Regions from separate parts of the Homo sapiens genome. Here all the other regions are linked to region 1. The links are contacts of gene promoters, found by promoter capture Hi-C in human tissues and cell types (Jung and others, 2019). All regions are on one chromosome and are shown on one strand. Each heading gives the region's core, a stretch centred on a gene start or on the middle of the fragment in contact. The rest is flanking DNA. Distances are from core to core; before and after follow the strand shown.

Region 1 (3,075 bases), core at 273-2,772:
GGAGTTCGAGACCAGCCTGGCCAAGGTGGTGAAACCATGTCTCTACTAAAAATACAAAAATTAGCCGGATGTAGCAGCATGCGCCTGTAGTCCCAGCTACTCAGAGGCTGAGGCATGAGAACTGCTTGAACCCGGATGGCGGAGGTTGCAGTGAGCCGAGATGGCGCTACTCTACTCCAGCCTGGGCAACAGAGTGAGACTTGGTCTCAGGAAAAAAAAAAAAAAAGAGAGAAAAGAAAGAAAGAAAATCAATGACTGTGAACAGGGAGCCGTGGGGAGGATGGGAAGACAGTGAAGAGGGCACACAGATGGTGAGGGTTTCAATCCCAAAGCCCCGGCTCCTATCTGCTTCTTCAAATGGAGAAAACTAAACCAAAAGGAAAATAAGAAAAATAATCACCGGTAATTCATATCACCCAGAGGCAAAGGTTAGCACTGTGGTATATTTCCTTCTGTCTTCCATGCAGTTTATACAAGATTCTTCACATTCACCATCTTCAAATATTCTTTAAGGGCATACTTTTATGGCTATGTAATACTCCACTTACTCACGGACCTAAGTTTATTTTACCATTCTCACAAGATTGGCCATTTCAGTTGTGCCCAATGCTCCACTATTATTATAACTTAACATTTTCATGGGCATCTTTTTTTATATAGTATCTGTACTTTCCTTTAAATTCCTAACCTCTCCGTTTAAAAAATAATAATAAAAATCATATTTTTTTTAACTAGGTCCAGAAATTCTGGAAGGTCAAGAGGCTTTGGCTCGAATCCCAATTCTGATACTTATTTGCTGTTTAGTGTTGGCACCAGTCCTAAACCTCTCCAGGCCTCAGATTATCATCTGTAAAATGAGACTGTGGAATCAGAGGTCTGAGGCCTGGTGGATCTTGTGTGACTTTTCTCTGATGCACCTCAGATGCATTAGGAGGCAGAAAAAGTCGGATTTCGGTGGTTGCAGCATATACTGAAATCCGCAGCCTCATACTTACAGGCAACAGTGTCCAGAGAGCTAGAGAATTTAGAAGAAAACTAGATGACTCATGCATGCAAGCCGAAAGCCACAACTGAGAGATCCGCATCTTCGCAGAGGATATGCTGCAGGAAGGAGCTCGGTGCAGGCCAGCTCTGTCACCTGCTAGCCTGGGTCTCCCGCAACGCGGCAGGTCTCCAGGTCTCAGTTTCCCCATCTTTGCGAAAGGATGATCATTATATCTGTTCTATTTACCCCCCCACCACAGAATTGTGGTTGGAGCTCGTGCTCTCAGGCGGCGGTTGCGCCGGGGCCCCTGGCTCAGCTGCCTGGTGATGGGGCTCCGGCCACCTCCCCTCCCTGGCTTCCTGGGCTCCGTCGAAAGCGCAGGGGTTGTGACTGCGAGCTGTGTCATCCCTCTCTGCCTGGCTGCCATCCCCTGCCCGCCCATCCGTCCTGGTGTGGCTCTGCTCAAGGGTAGGGAAGACGGGGACATCTCACCGGTCAGCGGCACCCTGTGCCCGCGCGCTCCTCCTGGCGACGCCGCGTTGTGGGCACTGGGAGGCGCCGTATTTATAGCGCTCTGCTCGCGCACACACCCCCTTTGGGGCTGGCTGCAAACCTGCATGACTCACGCCCAAAGAATGCCGCGGAAAGCAAGGGGAGCTTTCTGGAAGCCGGGAGGTGGGGGCCGGTGCAGCACCGGGCTGGGGGCGCCGGGGGGCGCATCATCACCACGAATAGCTGTGCTGGCTCCAGGAGAGACCCTGAGGTGCGGCCGCTCGGCGCTTCCAGTAGGGAAGAGCCTGAACTCGCGTGCCCATCTGGGAGCCCCTCTCACGCGGTTAGCCCGGCTGTCTGTCCCAGTCCAAGACACAATCTCACAGTTCCCTGGCCCTACTGACCTTAACCTTCACATTACACAAGCGCCACTTCTCTTGACCCATTTAAATAGTAAAGAGTCAGACATAATGAGGGTGGGATGGAGAGGGGCCTTGTGCTGGAGAAGAGAGCACAGGAAGTATTGAAACGCCTACTCCTGGAAACATCACACTGATGGGGGTCCCTGGACTGACCCGCCAGGCCTGGAGGAAACAGAATTGTGTTTAGGAGTGATCAGAGCAGATATGTGGAGAGCCAGAAGGCCTCTCCGGGGTCCTTGATCCACAGAGCTTAAGCAATCACTGTCCCCATCTTTTTGGAACCCAACCAAGCAGGGTGGGCTTCATGGCTGTGGGACCCTTGCAGATCCACGTTTGGTTTAATGGGCTACTGTGACGGTCTTGAAATTCTTCATAGTTTTTGAACCAGTGGACCTGAATTTTTATTTTGCCCTGAGCCTTCCCAGTTAGGAAATCAGATCTGTGTCCAGAGGGGTTTGCTGGTCTCCAACTGCTGGAGTTCCTTCTGCTGAGAGCAGGGAGAATCTCCTGTCGCAGCCACCCCTCCCCCTGGCAAGGAGGGGCAAATCTAGGAACCCTGGAGGTGCAGCTACTTCTTGGGGAAGAAAGTGAGCTGCCCATTTTGGAGCCAGGGATGTTTAAGCCCCAGGAGAGAAGTCAAGGGGCTGACAGCTGGGGCAATGGGTGGACAGGGCGGGTACAGGCAGCCCCACTGTGGGTGGCAGACTTTGAAAACCATGTGAAACAAAGGGGCTTAAAGGAGAGCTGCGTGGTCAGGGGCTGAGTTTTCCAGTTCAGGATCAGGACTATGGAGGCACAACATGGAGGCCCAGTCCCTTGCTTGCCCAACGTCCAGGGGCCACTAGGACCCCAGTCCTTTTCAGGAGGCAGCCTCGGGGAATCTTCAAGGCCCATGACTAAGTGGGAGAACCCAGACCAGGTCCATGAAAGTCTGATTACAGTCCTAGGTGTGCCCCTAGACACTGGGTGACCTCGGACTAATCACTTTGCCCTTGGGCCTCAGTTTCTTCCATCTGGACGATGAGGAATCGGGAATGGATCATCTCCACGGCTCCCTGCAACCTAACCTAGAGCCAAGCCAAGTATTAGAAGGCCATTAACCCAGAAGAAGAAAAAAATGTCCCAGAAGAGGCTACACTTTATTTTTCTTAAAAAAAAAATGTCTAATTATCAGTA
Region 2 (3,075 bases), core at 285-2,784, 480 kb after region 1:
CAAGTAGCTGGGACTACAGGGGCCCACCACCACGCCCGGCTAATTTTTTGTATTTTTAGTGGAGACGGGGTTTCATCATGTTAGCCAGGATGGTCTTGATCTCCTGACCTTGTGATCCGCCCACCTCGGCCTCCCAAAGTGCTGGGATTACAGGCATGAGCCACCGCGCCCGGCCGTAAATGTTTCTTATCAGACTTTAAGAGTCGGTTCTGTGCTCTATCAGCCTTAAGGTCTCTGTGTTGATGTTAACACTGGTTAGCAGCTCCTGAATTCTAAAAAGGAGGAGGGAATAAGGAGGCATGTCCAACCCCACTTCCCATCATGGCCTGAGCTAGTTTTTCAGTTTAACTTTGGAATGCCCTGGGCTGAGAATTATTTTCGGTTTACAGAGGAGAACTTATGTTCATTGGTATAGGATGACAATGAGGTCAGACAAATACCACTGAACTTGGCAGGCTGGGAAGTTACAAAGCTTAGCAAGGCCAGTTTCAGTGTCATAGTGGGGTCAAAGCCTCGTTGTTGCCTCAATTCTAGTAGGGTACATATTCCTGTCTTTATTAATGGGAGAGGTTCTTAATCTCCAGCCCATGGACAAAGGAGATCATAGATGGGTTTCAGGAAAACATCCCAAGTCCTGCCTCCAAATTTTGCAAAATTTTGTGCCTGTGTATTTTTCTGGAGAACGTAAACCAAACAGTGTCTGAGACAGGTCTCAGTCTGGAGGTTTATTCTGCCAAGGTTGAGGACACACCCAGGAAAAAGAGACATAAGTTATCATGGAATCTGTGGCCTGTGGTTTTTCCAAAGAGGGTTTTGAGGACTTCAATATTTAAAGGGAAAGAGCAGACAGAAGGGGAAAGAGGAACAACTATGCATTCATTTCACACTCAGTAAATCTGCCTTTTACAGAAGACAAAGTAAACATAGAGGAAGGAGTCAAATATGCATTTTTCTTGGGGTGGACTGAAGGGTGATTTCTAGTCTTGTCCTTGTCCCCTACCTACTGTAAATTTGCATGGTCAGGGTGGAATTCAACAGAAGTGTTGTAAGGTAAAGACTCTGCCACTCACAAGGAATTTCCCTGTGAGCAACTCCTCTGGGAGGCCACCTAGGGAGATATGTGGGCTTCTGTCTTTGCAGCTGTTTAGGAACAGAAGGAAGGCAGTTTTTGCGTGACTCAGTTCACAAGCTTAACTTTTTGTTGTTGTTGTTGTTGTTGAGACAGGGTCTCGCTCTGTCGTCTAGGCTGGACAACAGAGAATGATCTCCACTCACTGCAACCTCCACTTCCGGGTTCAAGAGATTCTCCTGCCTTAGCCTCCCAAGTAGCTGGGATTACAGGCGTGCACCACCACGCCTGGCTAATTTTTGTATTTTTAGTAGAGACAGGGTTTCACCATGTTGACCAGGGTGGTCTTGAATGCCAGACCTCAGATGATCTGCTGGCCTTGGCCTCCTGAGATGGGCATAGTGCTAGTATTACATGTGTGAGCCACTGCGCCCGGCCCTAAGCTTAACTTTTTTCTTTGGCAGAGTTTAGGGTCCCGAGATGTTATTTTCCTTCCACAAGAGACATCCACAGCTTTCACGATGGTTACCGATCATATGTGCCATTCATCTAAGACCAAGGTGACCACCTGGTCCCAAAGCCTGCACCTCGGATTCTTACTCGATTCCCGCCTGGTCTCTTCCAGGCCCTCAGTTAGTTTCCACAACATGGGAGGGTTCCTCCTCCGTGGTCTCGCCCATTCGCGTTCCCACCCACCCTCCCCGGATGTGACGACCCTGGGCTCCCACTCCCCCCCATGAGAGACCATCCACTTCCACCCTTTCACTTAGGCTTCCTGGCGCAGCCTCTATCCAGGAACTCTGTCCCATAGCTGTACTGCCCAGGTCGAGCTTTCTAACCCCAAGATGCCACTCCGTTCAGACGTTCCCATCCTCCATCCCTGAGACCCGGGGCAGGATCGCAGCCTAGGGGCCTCACGGGCCGCCTGCTACCCTGTTAGTTGCAACACGGGGCGGGGCGTGGCTTTGTGCACGTCGGCTTCCGGGAAGAGCTTTACGATACATTGACCGACATTTTACGACAGGCGGGATTGTTTTGTGGCTGTCAGCTTTCCCCGTGGTCTGAGTTTGTGGCTGCATTTTTATCTCTGGTGGCTCTGCTACGGCGGCGCAGAAATGAGGCAGAAGCGGAAAGGTGCGAAAGGGGAAGGAGATGGGGGAAAGGGGTGGTCCGAAAGGGGCGAACGCCCAGGCAATCAAATGCTGAACCGAACTTTTACCGCGAGAATCCGCTACCCAGTCCAGTCGCCCCGCCACCTAGGGTCAGTGTGTCCATTCTGGTCCCCGAGCCTTCTCGTTTTTCCTGTTTTGCTTTTTGAAGCACCCTACCCTTCCTCTCTTCCTCTTTGGCAGTCACGTGGTGTCTTGTTTGAATGGCAGGGAAACCATTATTCCAATATATGCCCTCCGAGGAGTTAACGTCGATTTAACGGGTTGTAGGACTTTTCATTTGTTAAGATTTGTTTCACGACACATTTGACGTGTTAGAGAGTTTCTTTTAAAGCCTTATTTTAAGATATTAAAAAAACCTTAATTATCCTTGGATTCAGTGTAAGAGTTGTGCATGCAATTATTCCCATTTTTATTACATCATGAGTTAGCAATGAACAATTCCACCTTTGGTTTTTCAACAGGACGGATTCAAATTTGAAATATTCTCTCACAGGTTCTGTTCCTATTTCTGTATCTCACAGGTTCTGTTCCTATTTCATTTGACCAGCTGGTCTAATCATGGTAATTGTTGTCAGAATAATAGCTACCATTTATTGAGCTTGTATTTTGAAGTCGGTATCATTTCCATTTTACAGATGAAGAAGCTGAGATTCAAAGAGTTAAGTAACTTTCCCAGACCAAAATTATACTTAGATATGGAGCTGGCTGGTCAGGCTGTATCTGTGACCTCAAAAAACATAAAATGAAAAATAAATACATCGTTAATCCCTATGCTTCTTGACATTAACTGTTATTTTTCTTTCTTCCAAGCAACAATTCTAAGTGTCCAAGTTA
Region 3 (3,075 bases), core at 240-2,739, 290 kb after region 1:
CCCAACCCCAGTACAGAGCCCACCAGCCTGGCCCACAGGAGCAAGGTGAATAGAGACCACGCATCCTCCACAGCATGGGGAACGCCCTGCTGGCTCGACCTCCTCACTTGCTCTCTCAAGTCTGCTGAAAGAAGAGCCACCAGAGAATTCCCAACAAGAGCCCCTCTGGCATGCGGGCAGTGTTTCTGATCTCAAAGCCATCTTTCCACATAGTTCCTCCCTTCCTGCCCACCCCCATCAGGAGTTGTTTATTTCTCAGAACTAAATGCCACGATCCTTCTCAGCTACCTTGGCAGCATTCTGTCAGAAACCAGTCAACAAACAGAGCAGGGAAAAACAGCACCCCGAAGACAGCATTCAGGACCCAGCCCTTTAGACAAAAGGGATCAGATCAGGTCTACTAGATGGCCTCATTCAGTCAGACACACCCAGTTAAGCAGCCCTGGAAAGGGACTCTAGAGAATGCTAGAAGTACTGTGAAGCTCGCAGATGGCCTTGTGGACTTTAGCACTTCAGGTGAGGTGAGTGTGGGGGGTCCAGGATCAGCCTGGGCATTTCCTTGTTTTTCTACGGGCAAGTCCATCACTTTCAAGGACAAGGTGCTGTCACCTGCCTTGCTCCTATTTGATCCTGAATCATGCCTCAGGGAGGGGAGGGCAGGGCAGAGAGAAAGCAGGGGCAAGTTTAAGTGTCAGGGGGCCTTGGGGAGGCCTCTTTTTGGGAGTGAGGTCTCCTTCTGGTCCTGCACAGCTGGGACTAAAGTGTGATGTGAAGGGCCTACTGCACCATACCATCCTGAGTGTGCTTGATCTCATCTGAAGGACCTAGTGAGACCAAGGAAGCATGAAAATAGCAGACCATTCAGCTGTAGTTTACATCTCAGCTGATATGAGCAACTGAAGAGAAGGCAGTTGAAGTGTCTGATGTGTACTGCATGGCCAAGAGTAATCGTGTAATGATCTGGAGGATTAGGCAGGCACCAAGAAGTGAGCCAAAGTTTCATCATATAGAAATGTTAGATGGTGTGGGAAGATCAATGAATGAGTAATTAATAATTTTTATTAGCGGGTGTGTTTTGCAGGTCTTGGCCATTAGTGTTCTTCTAGTTGAAGCACAACAATAATTTTTCATGTCATTAGTCATGGTTATCGCCCATGTGGGAATAATGGCATATGCTCTATTTGTTTTAAGTGTCCTTTTGGTTGTAGGATTTGTAGGTTTCTCTTCGAAACCTTCTCCTATTTATGGAGGCCTATGGCTAATTATTAGTGGTGCTGTAGGTTGTGGTATTGCGTTGAATTTTGGTGGGGCTGATAGTCTTTGATTTATTTGGGTGTCATGAGACCCCTTTCTGTGTCCAGCTTGTGACTCTGCAGTGGCCCCTGTCCCTGAGTGTCCGGGGGGAAGCTATTAACACAGGGACTCTTTCCCCAGGCCCCATCCTCCCAGAGCCAAGACCGGAGCCTAGATGCCAGAGGCAGTGATATTCTGCTTGCGCCCTCACGTGGGACAGAGCCAACTAACACCACATGCTGGGTTTGGTGTTTTTTCTTTTGCTCCTTTTTAAACTTGGCTAGGAGACTCTGTTCATTCTTCTCTGGCAAGTCTCCAAGATTCTACATGTAGCCCTCTCTAGGGGAAAAGTAAACCTTAGAAGAGTGGCACAACTAAATAAGCTGATCCCCTTGTCAACATTCTAGCAAGGACCGCATCAGAAAGATGCCCATTACTAACAGGGTGGTCTGCCGGATCGCAAGCTCTCCAGCGTCACTCCTCCATCAGTGGCAAATGGGGAAAACAAAGGCGATGCCACTTTGTCTCTGCACCTTTCCCTGTGTAACACCCAGGGAGGGGAGGCCTTTAACAAGGTCAGTAGCTGAATTTGTGCAAGCACCTCTGATGATTTTAGGAAGCGTGTCTGAGTGGGTGTATTACACAGAATAATAATCACAAACAGGTACTGAGTCCTCACCAGGTGTCCAGCATGATCATAAGCACTTTACACAGATTAACTCATTCAATTTTCACAATGACCTTATAAGGTAAAGACTCCTGTTATCCCTATTTTATAGATGAGAACACTGAGGCACAGAGATTATACCAGCTGGGCTAGCGAGTGACCGGGGGAAGCCTCCAGATCCATGCACACAACCGCCAGGTTTATGACACCTCTAGAAATGTGGCCAGTGCCCCTGGGGTCTATCAGCATCTCTTGCTAGACCAGCAGAGCCCTAAAAAAGGTAGGGAGCCTCCTTTGACACTTGAGCCCCAGCCATGGCTCCAGCCTCTGAACCTCCAAACTTATGGGGCTGCTTGGGGGACAGCTAGCCCTGTGCCAACACCATATCCCACGGCCCCAGCAGAATGTCCTTACTGGCATCCCCAGCTCTGTCTCCTTTCTCTCCTTTCTCTCCTTTTGGGCCTCGGTCACCTAAAACAGAGGAGGAAACTGGCATTAGAAATGGAAAGAAATCCTAATTGTGAATAAAATATTACCTGCAGGAGATTGATGAACTCGAGACCAGAGAAACCCTCAGGCAGGAGCCAGCAGCAACTGGAGAGCCCAGCAGGCAGGAGAAGAGGGCAGCCAATTCTGCCATCTGCCCTGGGTACCCCAAGAAGGAGGAGGCATGAGTGAGAAAATCCCACCCGTTTGTAAAGAACCAAAGAGCACATGGAATTTTGCAGGAAGAAGACAAGTCAAAGATAGTCCTATTAAACACTCAAGGTTTTAGAGGTCCACATCCAAGTTTGTTCTAATGAGCCCAGGGGAAAACAAAGGAGAGGGGGCTTTAGTTAAATAGGGGGAGAGGCGGGTTCTATGTTGAGCAGGTTTTCTTGTGGGAGAGACCATAAAACATAAGTGTGAGATACCAGGGAATTGTGGCATTTCCTTCCCAGGATATGGCTAAAGAAGACCTGTTTGGCCAGCTGGCATCTCCCTCTACAAAGAAGTAGAAAATCCTGGCACCACTCACTGGACATTAAAATGACAAGGGACTTCTATTCCAAGGACCCCCAGAAAGACATCTGCCAATCAAAAGCCCATGGGCATGCTGTCTGGTGAAAAAATCA

Evidence for each region. The method cuts DNA at HindIII sites, captures the fragments that hold promoters and counts their contacts. A contact is called where the count stands out against the background at its distance.
Region 2: a contact is called between a fragment that was not itself captured here and the fragment with the promoter of CLU in region 1, in 1 of the 25 tissues and cell types used here (hippocampus).
Region 3: a contact is called between a fragment that was not itself captured here and the fragment with the promoter of CLU in region 1, in 2 of the 25 tissues and cell types used here (mesendoderm cells and thymus).

What each region holds. Positions count from the first base shown.
Region 1 is chr8:27,613,178-27,616,252 of GRCh38, forward strand. CLU (clusterin) reads right to left here and starts at 1,523. Exons shown (of 9, transcript NM_001831.4): 1 at 1,478-1,523. RefSeq lists silencers at 1-121, 1,677-1,766 and enhancers at 1,155-1,654, 2,611-3,075. The HindIII fragment of the contact is 13,101 bases long and covers 1-3,075 here.
Region 2 is chr8:28,091,031-28,094,105 of GRCh38, forward strand. It overlaps ELP3 (elongator acetyltransferase complex subunit 3), which reads left to right and starts at 2,109. Exons shown (of 15, transcript NM_018091.6): 1 at 2,109-2,203. The coding sequence starts at 2,185. RefSeq lists enhancers at 1,690-2,243, 1,735-1,784. The HindIII fragment of the contact is 3,393 bases long and covers 1-3,075 here.
Region 3 is chr8:27,902,404-27,905,478 of GRCh38, forward strand. It overlaps SCARA5 (scavenger receptor class A member 5), which reads right to left. Exons shown (of 9, transcript NM_173833.6): 7 at 2,375-2,431. It overlaps LOC105379342 (a long non-coding RNA gene), which reads left to right and starts at 270. Exons shown (of 2, transcript NR_188147.1): 1 at 270-521. The HindIII fragment of the contact is 6,484 bases long and covers 1-3,075 here.